6 separate regions of the Homo sapiens genome follow, and regions 1, 2, 4, 5 and 6 are each linked to region 3. The links are contacts of gene promoters, found by promoter capture Hi-C in blood cells and fetal thymus (Javierre and others, 2016). All regions are on one chromosome and are shown on one strand. Each heading gives the region's core, a stretch centred on a gene start or on the middle of the fragment in contact. The rest is flanking DNA. Distances are from core to core; before and after follow the strand shown.

Evidence for each region. Contacts are between HindIII fragments. The CHiCAGO score rates a contact against its expected background, and 5 or more counts as called.
Region 1: the fragment with the promoter of ZSCAN22 here is called in contact with the fragment with the promoter of ZNF805 in region 3 in 3 of 17 cell types (neutrophils, non-activated CD4 T cells and total CD8 T cells); the score reaches 6.4 in neutrophils.
Region 2: a contact is called between the fragment with the promoter of MZF1 here and the fragment with the promoter of ZNF805 in region 3, in 1 of 17 cell types (neutrophils). The highest score is 5.4, in neutrophils.
Region 4: a contact is called between a fragment that was not itself captured here and the fragment with the promoter of ZNF805 in region 3, in 1 of 17 cell types (neutrophils). The highest score is 5.3, in neutrophils.
Region 5: a contact is called between the fragment with the promoter of ZNF8 here and the fragment with the promoter of ZNF805 in region 3, in 1 of 17 cell types (neutrophils). The highest score is 7.2, in neutrophils.
Region 6: a contact is called between a fragment that was not itself captured here and the fragment with the promoter of ZNF805 in region 3, in 1 of 17 cell types (neutrophils). The highest score is 9.8, in neutrophils.

The regions. Positions count from the first base shown.
Region 1 is chr19:58,325,708-58,328,692 of GRCh38, forward strand. It overlaps ZSCAN22 (zinc finger and SCAN domain containing 22), which reads left to right and starts at 1,287. Exons shown (of 3, transcript NM_181846.3): 1 at 1,287-1,407. It overlaps LOC105372480 (a long non-coding RNA gene), which reads right to left and starts at 1,541. Exons shown (of 3, transcript NR_144444.1): 1 at 1,116-1,541. RefSeq lists enhancers at 1,172-1,914, 1,258-1,587. The HindIII fragment of the contact is 13,061 bases long and covers 1-2,985 here.
Region 2 is chr19:58,571,805-58,574,843 of GRCh38, forward strand. MZF1 (myeloid zinc finger 1) reads right to left here and starts at 1,531. Exons shown (of 6, transcript NM_198055.2): 1 at 1,251-1,531. MZF1-AS1 (MZF1 antisense RNA 1) reads left to right here. Exons shown (of 6, transcript NR_027334.2): 4 at 54-151; 5 at 774-1,019; 6 at 1,113-2,993. RefSeq lists enhancers at 236-1,097, 1,098-1,957, 1,326-1,415, 1,476-1,905. The HindIII fragment of the contact is 12,442 bases long and covers 1-3,039 here.
Region 3 is chr19:57,239,237-57,241,936 of GRCh38, forward strand. It overlaps ZNF805 (zinc finger protein 805), which reads left to right and starts at 1,396. Exons shown (of 4, transcript NM_001023563.4): 1 at 1,396-1,685. The coding sequence starts at 1,656. RefSeq lists enhancers at 994-1,213, 1,234-1,503 and a silencer at 1,624-1,693. The HindIII fragment of the contact is 2,977 bases long and covers 1,345-2,700 here.
Region 4 is chr19:58,369,118-58,372,071 of GRCh38, forward strand. It overlaps ZNF837 (zinc finger protein 837), which reads right to left. Exons shown (of 3, transcript NM_138466.2): 2 at 702-811; 3 at 1-244. The coding sequence starts at 215. LOC124904788 (a long non-coding RNA gene) reads left to right here and starts at 690. Exons shown (of 2, transcript XR_007067364.1): 1 at 690-777. The HindIII fragment of the contact is 6,674 bases long and covers 1-2,954 here.
Region 5 is chr19:58,277,361-58,280,391 of GRCh38, forward strand. ZNF8 (zinc finger protein 8) reads left to right here and starts at 1,595. Exons shown (of 4, transcript NM_021089.3): 1 at 1,595-1,787. The coding sequence starts at 1,722. It overlaps ZNF8-DT (ZNF8 divergent transcript), which reads right to left and starts at 1,382. Exons shown (of 3, transcript NR_187495.1): 1 at 1,163-1,382. ZNF8-ERVK3-1 (ZNF8-ERVK3-1 readthrough (NMD candidate)) reads left to right here and starts at 1,606. Exons shown (of 7, transcript NR_144447.1): 1 at 1,606-3,031. It also overlaps a transcript of ZNF544 not described here. RefSeq lists enhancers at 1,671-1,720, 2,141-2,190. The HindIII fragment of the contact is 22,069 bases long and covers 1-3,031 here.
Region 6 is chr19:58,300,438-58,303,452 of GRCh38, forward strand. ZNF8 (zinc finger protein 8) reads left to right here. Exons shown (of 4, transcript NM_021089.3): 4 at 1-2,354. All of the region lies in intron 4 of ZNF8-ERVK3-1 (ZNF8-ERVK3-1 readthrough (NMD candidate)), which reads left to right. Among named protein-coding and RNA genes, the nearest start is that of ERVK3-1, 3.4 kb to the right of the region's middle. The HindIII fragment of the contact is 9,060 bases long and covers 1-3,015 here.

The DNA of each region.
Region 1 (2,985 bases), core at 37-2,536, 1.1 Mb after region 3:
TATACTGTGTCAGGTCCACCCCATTACCTCTAAGTATCTGTCTCAGACACAATTACACCTGGTGCAGGCAAACACAGCTGCATGATTATCACATATGATGATTAAATCACAGGTCACACACACGCAGAGTAAGCACACAGAACAACCCACAAACCTGGTCACAGAGTGACTCATGCAGACAGACGCCCAGCTCAAATTCAGTAAAAAATGATACACATTTATAAAAATGATTACATGTGTTCACAGAGAGCCACACATAGCTACACTCAATACACACCCTGACATAGGCAACCACACCGCTCACCTCTCACAAAGGCACCTTCAGTACTTACACAGACACTCACACCCACAAGCCCTCAGACAGGCACCCTCTCCCCTCACTCCTAACATGGGCACCCTCACCTCTCACCCAGGTACCCTTGTTACTGGTGGAGGGTGTCCAGGTTCTTGGCATCTTGAACAAATAATTGGACAAAATGCACAAAGAAAAGAATGAAGCAACAAAAGCAGAGATGTATTGAAAATGAAAGTACACTCCACTGTATGGGAGCAGGCCGGAGCATAGGGGCTCAAGAGCCCGGTTACAGAATTTTCTGGGGTTTAAATACCCTCTAGAGGTTTCCATTGGTTACTTGGTATATGCCCTATGTAAATGAAGAGGACGAAGTAAAGTTACAAAGTGATTTACTCCATGTACGCCCTGCATAAATGGAGAGGATATTTCCTACCATAGCTGCAGTTTCCATTTGATTTACTTCTAGGAAGTCCTTAGGTTCCCTGCCTCCAGACCCGATTTTCTTGCCTCACCCTTACCCCTCACCCCTCACACAAACACCCTCAGCCCTCCCAAAGCCACCCTCAGCCTCACACAGCCGCCCTCACCCTCAGCCTCACACAGGCACCCTCAGCTCTCACACAGGCACCCTCAGCCCTCACACAGCCGCCCTCACCCTCAGCCTCACACAGGCACCCTCAGCCTCACACAGGCACCCTCAGCTCTCACACAGGCACCCTCAGCCCTCAGCCCTCACACAGCCGCCCTCACCCTCACCCTCACACAGGCACCCTCAGCCTCACACAGGCACTCTCACCCTCAGCCTTCACATTTCCCTCACCTCCAAGTCCCGCCTTTCGCGCATCGCCTGCTGCTCTCCCACTCAGCGCCACCTCAGTCCCACAAAGGCCGGGCTGGGATCCTGTGGCCTCCGTGCTGACCAACGTCAACTACAATTCCCAGCAGGCACCGCGCCTGGGTACACTTGAGCTTCCGGAGGACGCCGGGAATTGTAGTCCTGGCGGGCGTGGGCCCTTGAGGTGTGCTGGGAGCTGTGGTCCGGGTCGGCGGGCGCGCAAGTTGGCTAGTCTCTGCGGCCACCTCCGGAAGGGTCCGCCGGCTGTGCTGGTGAGGTGGGTTTCGGGGGTGTTCTCCGTCCTGATCCAGGCTGGAGAGGGGCACAGCAGGTCCAGAAGCCGCGAACCTCTGGGGCGGCCAGAGCGAGATGCGGGGTACCGCCCAGCGGGTAGAGAGTGAGAGGCTGACTAGGGGACGTGAGTAGACGGACTGCGAGTGCCGGACACACGCGCAGAGGATGTGACGGACTGACGGACCAGGCGTGGACGGACCGTGTGTGCACGGACTGACGGACCCGGTGTGGACAGACTCACGGACCGAATGTGGTGCGGAATGACACACTGAGTGCCGGACGGACCGACGGAGAATGTGTCGGACTGACGGAGTGTGTGTCGGATGGACTGATTGACCGGGTGTGGGGCGGACGAAGTGTGGAGCGGGCGGACAGATAACAGATAAAATGTAGGACCAGTGGCCTGGGAGGGTGTGGGGCGGACCCGTTTATGTGTCTGATAGGCGGTTCTGTGTCTGACACCTCTTGGGTGTGTGTATCTGACGGGTTGGAGTGTGTGATTCTGATAGGTTGAGTGTAACACTAACCATGGAGTGTGTGACTGACAGAGATGGTTGCCGTTTGAGACTTCCTACGTGGGTTGTGAGATACTGTGAGAGGGTGAGCGTGTGACGGTGGGATTTCAAGTGTGACTGATTTTCTTTGTGTGTCCTTGAGATGGTGACTAAGATTATGAATGACTGTGATCAGAATAATACTGTGTGATGGAAATGCTGCGAGGGCCTGTGTTTATTTTTGAGACGGAGTCTTGCTCTGTTGCCCAGGCTGGAGTGCAGTGGCGCAATCTCGGCTCACTGCAACCTCCATCTCCCGGGTTCAAGCGATTATCCTGCGTCAGCCTCCCGAGTAGCTGGGATTACAGGCACCGGCCACCACACTTGGCTAATTTTTGTATTTTTGGTAGAGACGGGCTTTCACCATGTTGGTTAGGCTGGCCCGGAACTCCTGACCTCAGGTGATCCACCTGCCTAGGCCTCCCAAAGTGCTGGGATTATAGGCATGAGCCACCATGCCTGGCCAGGCCTGTGTTTATTTGACTGATTATAGGTGACATTGAGATATTTCCTGTGTCTGGGTATTTTGAAGGCTGTGGCTGACAGACTGTACCTGAGATAATATGTGTTAATATCTGATTGACTGAGATTTTTATCAGGGAGACTAAAACTTGGGTGATCCACAAACAGTTTACCAAGCATATGAGAGAGGATTTGTGCTTTGCCATGTCTGCAGCTGAAACTGAGTGACTAGTGGTCATTCAGCTGGGCTTATGGATATGTCCCCCAGTGTTTGCTTACGTGTAGCAGGGGGCTATGGTATCCATACATCTACTGCATGTTTACTGTGCACCAGGCCTGTGCTGGACACTTATAATAAATCACCTCACATAATCTCATAGCAACCCTCTGAGGTAGGTACCATTATCAGGCTTGGTATAATCCATGTGTGAGAAATGAAAAGAACCACCCTCCTTGGTTGGTAAAGCAGCTGTGGATGGGGAACCTCAACCTGATAGGAGTTGAGGTTGGCTGAGGAGGCTGAGGAAGTTTCACATACATGTATT
Region 2 (3,039 bases), core at 281-2,780, 1.3 Mb after region 3:
GAGACAACAGGTGTGTGCCACGACATCCGGCTAATTTCTTAATTTTTCTGTAGGGATGGGATCTTACTATGTTGCCTAGGCTGTTCTTGAACTCCTGGGCTCAAGCAGATGATCCTCTTACCTTGACCTCCCGAAGTGCTGGGACTTACAGGTTTGTTCCACCATGCCAGCCCACAGGCTGTTTTTTAGGACTAGAAGACACTTCTCTCCCCTGTATCCTTCCCTTCTTCTACATGTGCAACCTCATTCCTGCGCTACAGCTCTCTCTTTACCAGGTGGATGGCACCTATACACCTACAGCCTGGGCATCAGCATCACTGCTGGCGTCTCCCCCTACCCAACGCCAGCCCTTACTTCACCTTCTATTCTCTCATCTACTTCGATGTGGCTCCTCATTTGGGCCCCACCATCATTCCCCTCCCTGCTTGGAAGCCTCACTCCACCTAATCCTCCATGTCAACCTGTGCAGTCACTTGTATGGCTCAGCTCCCAGGCAGCACCCTCTCTCCCTACTCAGCCCCATCTTCTAAGCCCAACATCACACTACGCAATGCCCCATCTCAGCTTCCTGATTTAGCTGGGGTTGGAAGGGGATGGGGGAGCTTCGCAATGGGTGGGGGGGCGGCAAAGGCTCCAAGACTGCCGGAACAGGAGCCTGCAAGGAAGTCCCGAGACTCTGATTCCGCCCATCTTCAGATCACTGTGCCTTCGAGAACTTGTTTCCCCATTTGCAAGTGGGGCTGACCTCCCTCCTCGCGCTGTTCCTTCTGCAGCTGCGGCTTTAGGAAGGAATCTGCGTTTATGAAGGGGATGGCACCGCAGAATCATTCCCCCGTGGGTGGCATCGATTTCGAGGGCCGCCTCATCCTGGGGGCCAAGCCTCCACTCTTCAAGGTGCCAAGTCAACCTGAAACCCTGGGAGAGACTTGGGTCATAGCCAAGATGGCAGGTACCTACGGAGGGTCCCGAAATACACTTCCCAGAAGTCCAGGCGGCAACTTCCGCTCCAGGGTGCCAAGGTAGGTCCAGACGACGCCTAGGCAACCGGGGGCGGGGCTCCCAAAGCCTGTCGTCGTGGCAACGAGTAGTGATTGACAAGCCTCTCGCTCTAGCCCTGGGCGCTCCCGCAAGGACTGCCCGGATTCGTTCCCCGCGCTTCCGGTCTCACTGGGGAGCCGGAATCCCCGAGTCTGCAGCCACCGCCCCCGTCCACACGATAGCCCTCCCGGTTAAGAGGACCCCGCCCTCACCTCTGCGCTCAGCGGGCCGCTCCGCGCTCCTGAGCACGCGCAGTCTTCGACTTCCCCCTCCCGCTGGACTACGTCTCCCAGGATGCTCCGCGCACCAGCTCGAGCGCCTCCTTGCCCTTCCCCCACCCTCGTCCCCGTTTCTACACCCTCTCCTCCCTTCCCCTAGCGGTGGTCGCAATGATCAGGTCATACTCCTGGCCGCTTCTTCCCATGCTCCCCGCCTCGAATCCGTGCGTCGGCATGCGCAAGCCTCTCAGGTACAACAGACGGCAGCACCGCCTACCAGATCGCGCATGCCCCCCACCACGTTTTCCTCACTTCTCTACGGGCCTTCCTGAGATTAGCAGGATCCTGCACCAATCACGGCCGTCATTAGAACTCCGTCGGTGCCCCACCGCGTCTCCATGGCAACTCCCTACAGGAAGGGGCCTCTGCTACTTCCTAGACCGCAAAATGGAGAAAGGCTTGGCCCGATGCTTTCCGGCAGATGTAGTCAGCAGGCCCTTCGTGTGTACGTGCGCGCGCGGCGCGATGACGTTCCTCTGTGATCATGGGCGAGGGGCGGGCCCTGAACGTCTCCATGGTAACCTGGGGACACGACTCGACATCGCCTGGGTAACCCGGAGACGCGGCGGGCGTTGAAAATGCAATGGGGCATGTGGGATGAAGAGGTGGGGAAGGGTACTGGGGCAGAGAGATGCCGATCGATAGAAACAGCGAGGAGAGACGGAGAGAGACCAGAGACTCAAGGGCAAAGAGAGACGAAGGACCGGCGGGAGGAAGAGAGAGAGAGACAGAGAGACAGACTCACAGACTGGGAGGACCGGAGACTCGACGCGAGGAGAGACAGTGAAAATAAGTGAACAAACATAGAGACACGGGTCCAAGTTATAAGAGGGCTGAGTGGATCAGAGGGTCAGGGCCGGGCAAACAGGTGTCAGAACAGTTAGCAAGAGAGAGGCAGATCAGAAAGGGATGCAGATGAAAGAGACACAAAGAAGGAAACGCAGAATGGGTTCACAGAGACAAGAAATGCAGATATCCAGACTCAAGAGGTAGACAAGAAGGGAGAGGGACAGAAACAAGAAGGGAGAAAAGGGACAGAAATTAGAGATACAGTAAGATGGATTGACAGTTTTCGAAGACCTAGAGAAAGATGACAGCACGAAGAGAGACAGGGAGAATCCGAGGTAAAACTGTTAGGAAAACTTAGGAGTCCAGATGCTGTCCAGTTATATGCTACCCTGTACAGGTTGATAGGTTGCAAATGCTTTCTGTCCAGTGTATCGCTTTGTAGCTCACTAAGCAGTTTTGTATCCAACTTTGTGCTTTTATTTCAGTGTTTTTCTTTTTCTTTCTTTCTTTTTTTTTTTTTTTTTTTTGACGGAGTCTCGCTGTTGCCAGACTGGAGTGCAGTGGCACGATCTCGGCTCACTGCAACCTCCGTCTCCCAGGTTCAAGCGATTCTCCTGCCTCAGCCTCCCGAGTAGCTGGGACTGCAGGCTGCTCCACCACACCCGGCTGATTTTTGTATTTTTAGTAGAGATGGGGTTTTACCATGTTGGCCAGACTGGTCTTGACCTCCAGACCTCTGGTGATCCGCCCACCTCGGCCTCCCAAATTGCTGGAATTACAGGTGTGAGCCACCGCGGCCGGCCAGTGTTTATTCTTCCTTTCCTGTCTTCCTAGAATCATCTTGCTGCTTCCCTCAGTACGGTAAATAAATCTTTTGACACATGCTCACTGAGAGTCATGTTTTTAACTGTTTTGAAATTATATTTGGCAGTCT
Region 3 (2,700 bases), core at 146-2,645:
TGAGCACAGGAGTTCAAGACCAGCCTGGGCAGCATGGTGAAACTGACTACAAAAACTACAAAACAAAACAAAAAAACCCTCAATTTGCTGGGCGTGGTGGTGCGTGCCTGCAGTCCCAGCTACTTGGGTGGCTGAGGTGGGAGGATCACTTGAACCCTGGAGTTTGAGGCTGCAGTGAGCTGTGATCGCGCCACTGCACTATGGCCTGAGCAACAGAGCGAGACCCTGTCTCAAAAAATATATATATAAATATATATATAAATATATATGTGCATATATATACGTATATATACATATGTATATATACGTATATATGTATATATGTATATATAAATATATGTATATATAAGTAGAGAGAGAGAGAGAGAGAGAGACGGAGTCTCACTCTGTCGCCCAGGCTGGAGTGCAGTGGCGCGATCTCGGCTCACTGCAAGTTCCGCCTCCCGGGTTCACATCATTCTCCTGCCTCAGCCTCCCGAGTAGCTGGGACTACAGGCGCCAGCCACCACGCCCGGCTAATTTTTTGCATTTTTAGTAAAGACGGGGTTTCATCGTGTTAGCCAGGATGGTCTCGATCTCCTGATCTCGTGATCTACCCGCCTCGGCCTCCCAAAGTGCTGGGATTACAGGCGTGAGCCACCGCGCTCTATTTTTTTTCTTTTCTTTTTCTTTTTTTTTTTTTTTTGGTACCAATGAGGTCTCGCTCTGTCGCCCAGACTGTTCTCAAACTCCTGTCCTCAAGCGATCCTCCTGCCACAGACTTCTGGGACCACAGGTGTGCGCCAGCACACTCAGCTTATTTTAAAAAAATTTTTTTTTTTTTTGGTAGTCTCCCTATGTTGCTCAAGCTGGTCTTGAGCTCCTGGGCTCAAGCGATCCGCCCCCCTTGGCCTCCCAATGCGCTGGGATCCCAGGCCTGAGGCATCGCGCCGCCCGACGTCCCCCTTTGGTTACTCTGACTGCCCGCTGATCTGTATAAGAGGATCCGGAGGGGAAATAATGCAAGGTGGAAGTCAGAGTCCGGAGCCTGGTCCAGGGTCTCTGCACTGGCCCTGACCCTGGCAAATGTCCCTGACTCCTGGGGCTCGATTTCCTCCGGCCAAGAATGGACGGTCTCGCGCTTGGTCCCTGGCCTCCGAGTTGTGCCCCCAGGACAGAGGCAGGTCTGAGCCGGGCTGTAGGCCCGCTGCGACTTTTACACCGAGGCCTGCCGGCTCAGGATCTGTCCCCTTTGCAGGTGGTTTGTAGAGAAAAACTACATTAACTACAAGGCATTGCCAGGTGCGACGGCGGGCCCTGGGGCCAATGATGGTCCAGGACAGGGGCGTTTCCTGTGGGTTGCGAAGCTTGGGGCGGGACTTCCGGCATTTGGATGGGACGTAATTTGGGAGCGACGGTTCCGTCCACGCCGGCTCTAGGGAGGGGGCGGTGTTCCGTGGCCGCCTCCCTGGCGGCGCTGGGGAAATGAGCAGGTAGGAGGCCGACAGCGACCTCCGCGTCTCGGAGCGAACCGTGAGCCTCCCCGTAACGAGAGAGTTTGACTGTCAGCCAAGGTCACCGGGCCCGGCGCAGGGAAGGGGTGGGGCTCGGCTGAGCCCGCGAGACCCGCCCTGCTCGCCGCAGCCCCCGCCCCGCTAGGGCCACAGGGTCCCGGTATGGCGATGGCTTTGACGGACCCGGCGCAGGTGAGTGGACAAGGTTTCGGCCTTGCTGCTTTTCTGCTAGTTCGGGGAAGCCTCCTGGGCAGGCCGGAAGCCAAGACAGCCACAGGATTCCTCTTTGTAGTTTTGTTTGTTTACGAAACGTGGAGCAGGCTCGTCACTTAGTTTATCTCCTGTCGTGGTAGTACCTGAGAGACTGAATATTGAAGCGGACAGTAGGCAGACTATACATCGATTATAGGGCTGTGACGTACAATTTTTTTGTAGCAACCTGCCCAGGAAACCAGCCTCCTGTTCTGCAATAAACTACTCTGGAAGCCAGTCTGCCTTAAGTTAGTCTTGCAAGGAGCTAGATTACTCTCTGGTGACATTTCAGGAGGCTAAACGGTAACTCCTGGAACAGTAGGCCCCAAATAGGACTTGATTTGTAACTGACTGTTCTAATTTTTGCCTCCGCCTCCAAAAGAGGACCAAGCAGAGAAAGCCATACGTGCTCAGCCTAACCAATCACATACGATGCCCCACTTCTAGTTAGCCCTTCTGCAGCTTTCCACTGCTAAAGTGTCAGGCCTCTGAAAGCTGCTTAATAATTGCTTGAAGGATGGATGAAGTTCCACTCCAGGGACTCCCGTCACACACATCATCCGAACTCAGCCTTGGCCTGCAAGTCCCTACCCGGTCCACTATGGCTGACCACCTCTGTCCTTGTTTCCTTCCTTTCCTCCCTGGCTCAGCGCTTCAGACACAGGTCCACTATGGCTGACCACCTCTGTCCTTGTTTCCTTCCTTTCCTCCCTGGCTCAGCCCTTCAGACATATCAATCTGATCACGCAGAGTTCTTTCCTACCCCTCAGCCTTCACCTTTACAGTTCATTCAGCCTCAGACACTATCCTCAGATCTCTGCAAGACCCTTTCACATCTTGTTGGCTCTGCTCAAATGTCACTTCTTTAAAGCGGCCTTTCATGGCAGTTCAGACTAAAGTAGTCCCCTTCTCACCTGCCCTTGGTCTAGCGTTTTTGTATAGAGAATCTGGCAAA
Region 4 (2,954 bases), core at 129-2,628, 1.1 Mb after region 3:
ACCCCGAGGCTGCAGCCCCGGGAGCCCCCGCCTGGGGGAGTCGTCCTACCGCCCGCCGCTCCACGCAGGTCCCCCTTTTGAGTGGGGCGGCTCCCAGCTCGGTCCTCTTCGAGGGGCCTCGGCTCCTCGGGCCTCTTCTCCCGGGCCCCGGAGGCACCCTGGGCATCGGCCTTGGGGAGTCCTCCCTGCCCAGCCTTCTGGGCTGGAGCCTCCATCCTGGGGCGCAGAGTTCTGGTTGTAGGATCTGGAAGAGCAGAGAAGAAATGGAGGTTGGCGGTTCCCAGGAGGAGAGAAGTGGAGAACTGGGCCAACGAGCGACCACCCCACAGCTGGCACCTACTGGGCGGCCCCCAGCTCTCTGCAGATGCGAAAGGGTAAATGGAGTGACATAGGCAGCCCGTCCTGCCCCTCTTCAAATTGTCACCACCCAGACCCCAGAGAACAGCTTCCCAGGCTCTGCCTGCCCGCCATCACCGTTCCTCCCCAACACTAGCTCCTAAAACACTGTGCCCCTGGCTAAGGCCCTCCCTGGTCCCCCTTCCCCAAGCAACAGGGACTCCCCCGTTGCTCAGCTGCCAGCTCCCCAAAATCTCACTTACTCCTGCCCTCCGTTTCTCAGTGGCAAGCCGACACTCCGGGTCCTCCTGGCTCCATTCACTGCCATTGTCCATGTCTTCTGAGAGGTGTGAGGTGAGACTCACCTGACAGCTGAGAGCCTGGCCGGGAGATCCACGCTGCAGAGGCCAATGCTGGACTTCCCCTCCCCTCTTCAACCAGGTAACGGTGGTGCTCTCAAGGCTGGCAGCCTCATCTACAAAATGGGTATGATAACGGTAAGTATAACCAGCTGAGTAGGGAGACAGGCAGCCCAGATCATTCAAGCAAGTGTGAACATTAGCAACGCCTGGCGCCTGCTATTACTATTTTAAAATTACACTGTGGCTGTATTAGTTATCTATTGTTAAAGCTGCTTTAACAAACTGCCACCCCATAGTGGCTTGAGACAGTGCAAACTTGTTATCTCAGAGTTCTGGAGGTCGTAAGTCCTAAGTGAAGGTTTCAGTAGTGTGGGTTCCTTCCAGAAGCTCTTGGGGAGGACGTTTGCTGACCATTTCCAGCTTCTAGGTGCCACCTACTTTTCTTTCTTCCATCTTCAAGCCAGCAGTAAGACATGTTCATCTCTCTCTTTCTGGGTTTGTTGTCAAATCTCCTTATACTCCTTATAGGATTCTGACCCTTCTGCCTCTTGTGATCACACTAGGCCAACCACACATAATCCAGGAATCTCCCCATCTCAAGATCCAAAACTTCATCACACTCAGTTCTTTTGCCTTGTGAAGTAACATAGTCAGAGGTTCTAGGAAACAGGACGTGCAGATCTTTCAGGGGGCCATTATTCTGCTTACAACAGTGGACTTTGCTGAGATACACACACGTGCATATATAAATATTCATCTCCTAAGCAAGCAATTGAATAGCAAGTGAAAACAAAGGACGGCCGGGCACGGTAGCTCACGCCTGTAATCCCAGCACTTTGGGAGGCCGAGGCAGATGGATCACCTGAGGTCAGGAGTTTGAGACCAGCCTGACCAACATAGAGAAACCCCGTCTCTACTAAAAATACAAAATTAGCCAGGCATGGTGGTGCGTGCCTGTAATCCCAGCTACTCAGGAGGCTAAAGCAAGAGAATCACTTGAACCCGGGAGATGGAGGTTGCAGTTAGCCGAGATCGCACCATTGCACTCCAGCCTGGGCAACAAAAGTGAAACTCTTTCAAAAAAAGAAAAGGAAAAAAAGAAAAGAGAGAGAGAGGGAGGGAGGGGTGAAGGCCGGGGGGGGGGAGCCGGGCGCGGTGGCTCACGCCTGTAATCCCAGCACTTTGGGAGGCCTAGGTGGGCAGATCACGAGGTCAGGAGATCGATACCATCCTGGCTAACACGGTGAAACCCCGTCTCTACTAAAAATACAAAAAATTAGCTGGGCGTGGTGGCGGGCGCCTGTAGTCCCAGCTACTCGGGAGGCTGCGGCAGGAGACTGGTGTGAACCCGGGAGGCGGAGCTTGCAGTGAGCCGAGATCACGCCACTGCACTCCAGCCTGGGCGACAGAACGAGACTCTGTCTCAAAAAAAAAAAAAAAAAAATTGCCGGGCATGGTGATGCATGCCTGTAGTCCCAGCTACTCAGGAGGCTAAGGCAGGAGAATCACTTGAACCTGTGAGGTGGAGGATGCAGTAAGCTGGGATTGGGCCACTGCCCTCCAGCCTGGGCGACAGAGCGAGACTCCGTCTCAAAAATAAATAAATAAATAAATATTTTCCTCATTGTGATGTGATGTGAGGTTTCTCAGCCTCACACGTGATAAGTGCACAATCCTCCTGTCCCCTCCCTAGATCTCATTGTTTCCAGAACAAAGATGGATCTGTCCAGCACAGCCTTTAGACTCTGAATCCCGGATGGCTAACATCATATGCAGAGCGTGAGATGGACACACTTGTGGCACCCTCGTAAATCACTGCTTCACTCGGCACAGGAGCTCAGATTCTTCTCCTTTTGTCCTGTGTTCCCTATTCTGTGCAAGGCAGATATCCTCTTATTTTATTTTATTTATTTTGGTGTTTTTTGAGACAGAGGCTCTCTCTGTCACCCAGGCTGCAGTGCAGTGGCGCCATCTCAGCTCACTGCAACCTCCGCCTGCTGGGTTCAAGCAATTCTCCTGCCTCAGCCTCCTGAGTAGCTGGGATTACAGGTGCCTGCCACCATGTCTGGCTAATTTTTTGTATTTTTAGTAGAGATGGGGTTTCACCATGCTGGCCAGGCTGGTCTTGAACTCCTGACCTTGTGATCTGCCCACCTCGGCCTCCCAAAGCGCTGGGATTACAGGCGTGAGCCACCGTACCTGGCCAGATATCCCTTTATTTATTTGTTTGTTTGTTTGTTTATTTTTATTTATTTA
Region 5 (3,031 bases), core at 345-2,844, 1.0 Mb after region 3:
TGAAGGGCCATGTCATGGTTGATCTTCAGTCCCTCAGACTACACCATCAGCCCCATGGGGGTGAGCAAATAACAAGTAACTATACTGTTCCCTGCTATGTGTCTGGCTCTTGGTAAAATTTAAAAAAGTTAAAAATTGTTGTGGTTTGAATGCAACATTTTTGAATGGAAATCTGCTTCCCCATTTTTCTTTTTTAATAACTTTTTATTTTTTTTTTGAGACGGAGTCTTGCTCTGTCACCCAGGCTGGAGTGCAGTGGCCTGACCTCGGCTCACGGCAACCTCCGCCTCCCAGGTTCAAGCGATTCTCCTGCCTCAGCCTCCCGAGAAGCTGGGACTACAGGTGCCCGCCACCACGCCGGGCTAATTTTTGTATTTTTAGTAGAGACGGGGTTTCACCATATTGGCCAGGTTGGTCTCGAGCTCCTGACATCGTGATCCACCCGCCTCGACTTCCCAAAGTGCTGGGATTATAGGCGTTAGCCACCGCGCCCGACCTTTAATAAACATTTTAATGGACTACAACAGACCCACAGAAAAAGACACATCACAAAGTGAACACCCACAGGGAGAAGCAATAGGGCTGTCAGAGGCATTCGACCCAGAGCGACTCCATTTTGAGTGAGGGCTAGGAAAATGAGGCTGGGCTGCATTCCCAGAAAAGTAGGTATTCCTAACCTCTAGATGTTTACGGTTAAGGGAACAAATTAATAATGGGTACTAAAACAGACCCAGACTTGGGAGTGTCCAGATATCCCGGTATCTAGAGAACAAAGGCATTCCTAATTTTGCTTTAAAAATAATATCGATTCTTGAAAAATACAGTAAGAAAATTAATCCTTTTTCACAAACCCTTGTAGCAGAGCACATCTCCCCAAAATCTATTTTTAGCCCAAATATACACAAGCATTGTACCTAGGGTGCATACGTTCCTCTTACTTTCAGGAACGTCCTACTGTCTATGGGGTAGCTGTTTCACAACTTTACTTTCTCAACAAACTTGCTTTTACTTTGCACTGCGGACTCGCCCTGAATTTTTTCTTGCGCGAGATCCAAGAACCCTCCCTTGGGGTCTGAATCGGACCCCTTTCCTGTAACACAACCACCGCTCCCAGCCTCCCCGCTTCCAGCCGCTAAGCCCAAAGTCTTTTATATGAACAAACCTCTAACTCGTCCTGTGACTTTGATGCGTGTGCGTTTTAGGCACCGGGGAGCAGAGGGTAAAGCGGCGCAGCTCCGGGCCTCCTCCCGCGCAAGTTCCCGAGAAGAGCAGGTCCGGCCCGCGCAGACGTGCACGGTCCCCAGCCATTAGGAGGAGCAGACGGTCCCCACCCCCACAATCAGTCATCTCTCGGGGTCCGCCCTTGCTTCCTGCCCACGAGTGAGGCCTCTGGTTGCCCGCAACCTAAGGGGCATCGCAGCCCCGAGCAACACCGCCCCCACCAGCCTTAGCTGAGTGCTCCCATTGGCCAGAGGCCAGCGGGTGGGGGCTCCCATTGGCCATCGGCCATAATGCTTCCATTGGTCGAAGGCCAGACCAGCGGAGACTCCCATTGGCCGAGGGCTGTGGTTCGCCGCACGGCCTACTGGGAGTTGTAGTCGCCGCGTCGCCGGTGCGGCCGCCATTGTCCGGCGTTCGGCGAGTCGGGTGGTCCCTTTGGCTGGAGTGCCTCTCTGGTCTGGGGATCACCTCAGGCGCTGTCCTTCACTGGGCGATCCAGCATGGACCCCGAGGACGAAGGGGTAGCGGGAGTGATGTCTGTGGGGCCGCCGGCGGCCCGGCTTCAGGTAACAATAACAACAATAACGACGGCGGCGGGCTCCGGGCAAGCGTCTCCCGCGCAGACTGACCCTTTCACCTCGCGGCGCGATGAGAGCGGCACCGCTGTTAATGCCCTTGACACGTGGGGAAACTCAGACGCGGGTCGGGGCGTGGTGACCGTCCTGGCTGGTCAGAGAGGGGGCCGGGATTCCAACCAGGCGCCTGGCCCCCGAATGCGCATGCTCCACGCGGCTCTGTCCTCCCCAGGGCTGGGGTCGGTCATTCCCGAGAGAATCGAGCAGGCCCATCTCCTGCGTTCTGCTCCGCCCCGCCGACACCCTTGCCCATTCCAGGAAGGTCTGTCCTCGTGTTGACTGATAACAGTAATTGTAGCGTTGGCCGGGTGCCCAGATGGCAAGAATCATCGAATAGAGATGCTTTAACGCGTGGAGTCAGCGGACACCCACCGGGACCCCAGCACCGCGGAGCCCCTGCCCTGGGGCTTGGGCACAACCTCTTGGGGGCAATGATGGGTCACCACGCACTGAGTGTGATGAGAGTGACCACCAGGGTCGTCCCCTGCGAGACTGTGGGAGAACTGCAGTGCAGGGCGGTCAGTGTTTGCAGGGCCATCTGGCCATCAGAGCTCCACTTTCTAGACAAAGTGGTTGCGGCCTGTGTTCTCCATAAAGCTGCCTCGCGTGGCAGGAAACAACAATAATTATCCTTCCTCAAGCTCTGCAACTTTGAAATTATACTTTTTTTTATTTTTTGTCGTTGGTTTGTTCATGGGGATTTGCATTATTTCAGATTTGGTACACAAAGTGAGACTTGATAATCTTAGGTTGCAGGTTTTCAGATGTGTGTTGCTCCAAATTTGCATGAAATGCTACCACGTTTTATTTTGTTCTTGCTGTGGATGGGGGACAAGGAATGAGTCGTAAGAAAGGCTTGAGAGAAAGTGTATTAGTTACCTGTTGCTGTGTAACTCAAAACTTCGTGACCTGGAACAACAATAAATATCTCACGAGTTCTGACAGGAGTAATGGAATGTCCTAGCTGGTGGTTCTGGTTCAGGCCCATGAAGTTACAGTGAAGATGTCAGCATAGCTGTTGTCACCTGAGACCTGAGTCTGGAGGATCCACCTCCAGGATGGCTCACTCACATGTCTGTTGATAGGAGACCTCAGTTGTTCTCCATGTAGGCCTCTCTTTGGAACTGCTAGGGATCCTTGCAACATGGCATCTGGCTTCCCACAGAACAAGTGAT
Region 6 (3,015 bases), core at 148-2,647, 1.1 Mb after region 3:
AGGAAAAACATTCCCAGAAGCCTGCAGCACATGCCCCCCTTAGTCTCACTGGCCACAGATGGGTCAGGGGGCCACCCCTAATAACAACGGGGCTTAGAAACCTCGTATTTACCTTTCTAACCTCTGTGGTGGAGACAGGTGGGAGAGAAAAGTCCTGGGAAGTGGATGATGGAGGCAGCTAGCCGTAGCTGCTGCTTTTCTCTTCAAGCTCTTGGGAGAATTGCTTGTGCTCCCTATTCCCTTGGTGGATGATGGAGGCAGCTAGCCGTATCTGCTGCTTTTCTCCTTCAAGCTCTTGGGAGAATCGCTTGTGCTCCCTATTCCCTTGGTGGCAGCTCACACCTCAGACCTGCTGTCCGCCCCCACTGCTTCACAGAACCCACTGCAACCACTGTCCAAGGTACTACCTCTGGTGTCGTCTCTCTTCATCCCCAGGACTGTGAAGCCTGCTAACCTCTTTGCAGAGCTCCATCTCCTTGCATTGTGGGGTTCCTTCTAACTCTTCAGGGACTTCTCAACCTCCCGTCACCCTTCCTAAATGCTGGGGTCCTAGAGTCCACCTTGTGCTCCACGCCCTCCCCAGGTGTCATCTACATCCCTAGCTTTGTGCTGCTCACCACCAAATCAGTCTGGTGCTTCTGAGATTTGGGCTTCAGACCCAAACAACTGCTGTGTGCTACTGGGCAACTCCCCGAGGTGTGCCGAAAGCTCCCCAAACCCAGCCTACCCCAAACAAAACTCATTTTCCACCCAGACTAGTCTCTGCTTCCCTGATCCCTTTCCTGGAGGCTGTTTCCACTTGCCATCCCATCATGGAAGCCAGAAAACCAGTCTTCTTGACCTCTCCCCTTCCCCACTCCATGGAGTTAGAGGTCCTGTTGATTTTGCCATGTAAACATTTCGGATTTGCTTACTTCATCCCCACTGCCACCAACAGTGCAGGATGGCCCTAAGAGGAGAAGTAATGTGCTACCAAGTGGCCCAGCCAGAGTGTGAACCAAACAGTCTGGTACCAAAACCCTATTCTGGATCATTCCTCCTTTCTGCTCCACCAGCAGTTTGGGGCACAGGCTTGGGAATCCAGACAGGAAAGCTCCTCCCCTCTGAAGCAGTGGGACCAAAAATGACAGCATGGTTCTAGACAGCTCTGGAAGTCAGGCCTGTGATTGCCTCATTCCCTCCACCTTGGCCCCCAAAATGGCCAGTCCTGAAGGGGTCACAGTTGATACTTCTCTGAGGGGGCATGGGGTTGGCTGAGGTTATAGCAGCCCCACAGGGTGGTAAGCTGGGATGAAGCAATCAACTGGAACTCAACAAGCCTTGAGTTCTCAAAGGGGGTGTGGGAAGGTTCTTATACATCTTCTATGAAGGGCAGTTTATCAGTCACTAAATTACAAATACATAAACCCTTTGTCTCACCAAACCTGCTGGGAATGAATCCTACATATATATTTATATGTGTGCAGGCTACATGGTTTTCATTATGCTATTGATTTTAAAAGTAAAAATTTGGAAAGAACCTCCATGTCCACCATGGGGAACTGGCTAAGTCATTTATGGTGGAATGGTGATCATAAAAATTCATTAAAAATGAAGACTCTATATACAGCTTGAATATTCCTTATCGAAATGCTTGGGACCAGAAGTGTTTCAGATCTTTGCATATTTTCTGTTTCTCATTTCAGTTCACATTTTCTAAGCATGATATTCCTACTGATTTCCTTGTAGATATTTTGAAACAGATAAGAAACTCCTCCGTGGAAATTACTGTTAACTAGGGAAAAGACATGTTTTTTTCTGTTCATAAAAGTAATGCGAGTTCTTTGTAGCAAAACTTGGAAAATGCATAAAAGTAAAAAAAAAATGAAAACTTGTGTAAAATTCCTCATACTTTAGCCATCCATAGATGGTCCTTACCATTAGGATTTTACTAATTTTCCTTGCAGCTTTTTCTTAAAATATACACGTGTGTCTACACATACATAGTGTACACTAAATTTTACATACACACAGAGGAATATATATGTGTATAGTTATCTTGTGTTTAGAAATTTGGAATCCCTTCTAGTTGTCTTGTAACATGTGCTTACTCTATTTTGAGGATTTTCTCTATGAATTTCATGTAGCTCTTTAAATTAACTTTCAGGAGGATTGTAACAATGTGCTCTCCACCCAGTATTTTACCAGCCTTGAGTTTTCTCAAAGGGGGCATTGGAGGGGTTCTTATACATTTACAGTGGGAATGTGAATTGATACAACTTCTGTGGAGGGCAGTTTATCAGCCACTATCTAAATTACACATACATAAACCCTTTGTCTAAGCAAACTTGCTGGGAATAAATCCTACACATATATTTGTATGTGTGCAGACTGTTTGTACATGGTTTTCATTATGCTATTGATTTTAAAAGTCAGAATTTGGAAACAACCCTCCATGTCCACCATGGGGAACTGGCTAAGTCATTTATGGTGGAATGGAGATCATAGCCTTAAAAATGAAGACTCTTTATATACAGGTTGAGTATCCCTTATCCAAAATGCTCAGGACCAGAAGTGTTTCAGATTTCAGATTTTTGAATTAGGGATCCTCAAACTATACTAATGTGAGAAAGAGCTCTAAGATAGTTAAGTAGATAAAAGCAAGGTGTCAAACTGTAGAGTATGTTTCCATTTATGTAAAGAAGAAACAGGCTAGGCAAGGTGACTCACGCCTGTAATCCCAGCACTTTGGGAGGCCGAGGCGGGTGGATCACCTGAGGTCCGGAGTTCAAGACCAGCCTGACCAACACGGTGAAACCCCATCTCTACTAAAAATACAAAAGCTGGGTGTGGTGGTGCACACTTCTAATCCCAGCTACTCCGTAGGCTAAGGCAGGAGAATCGCTTGAACCCAGGAAGTGGAGGTTGCAGTGAGCCAATATTGTGCCATTGCACTCCAGCTTGGGCAACAAGAGCGAAACTCCATCTCAAAAATAAATAAATAAATAAGAAACATTTGTTTATATGTACACACAT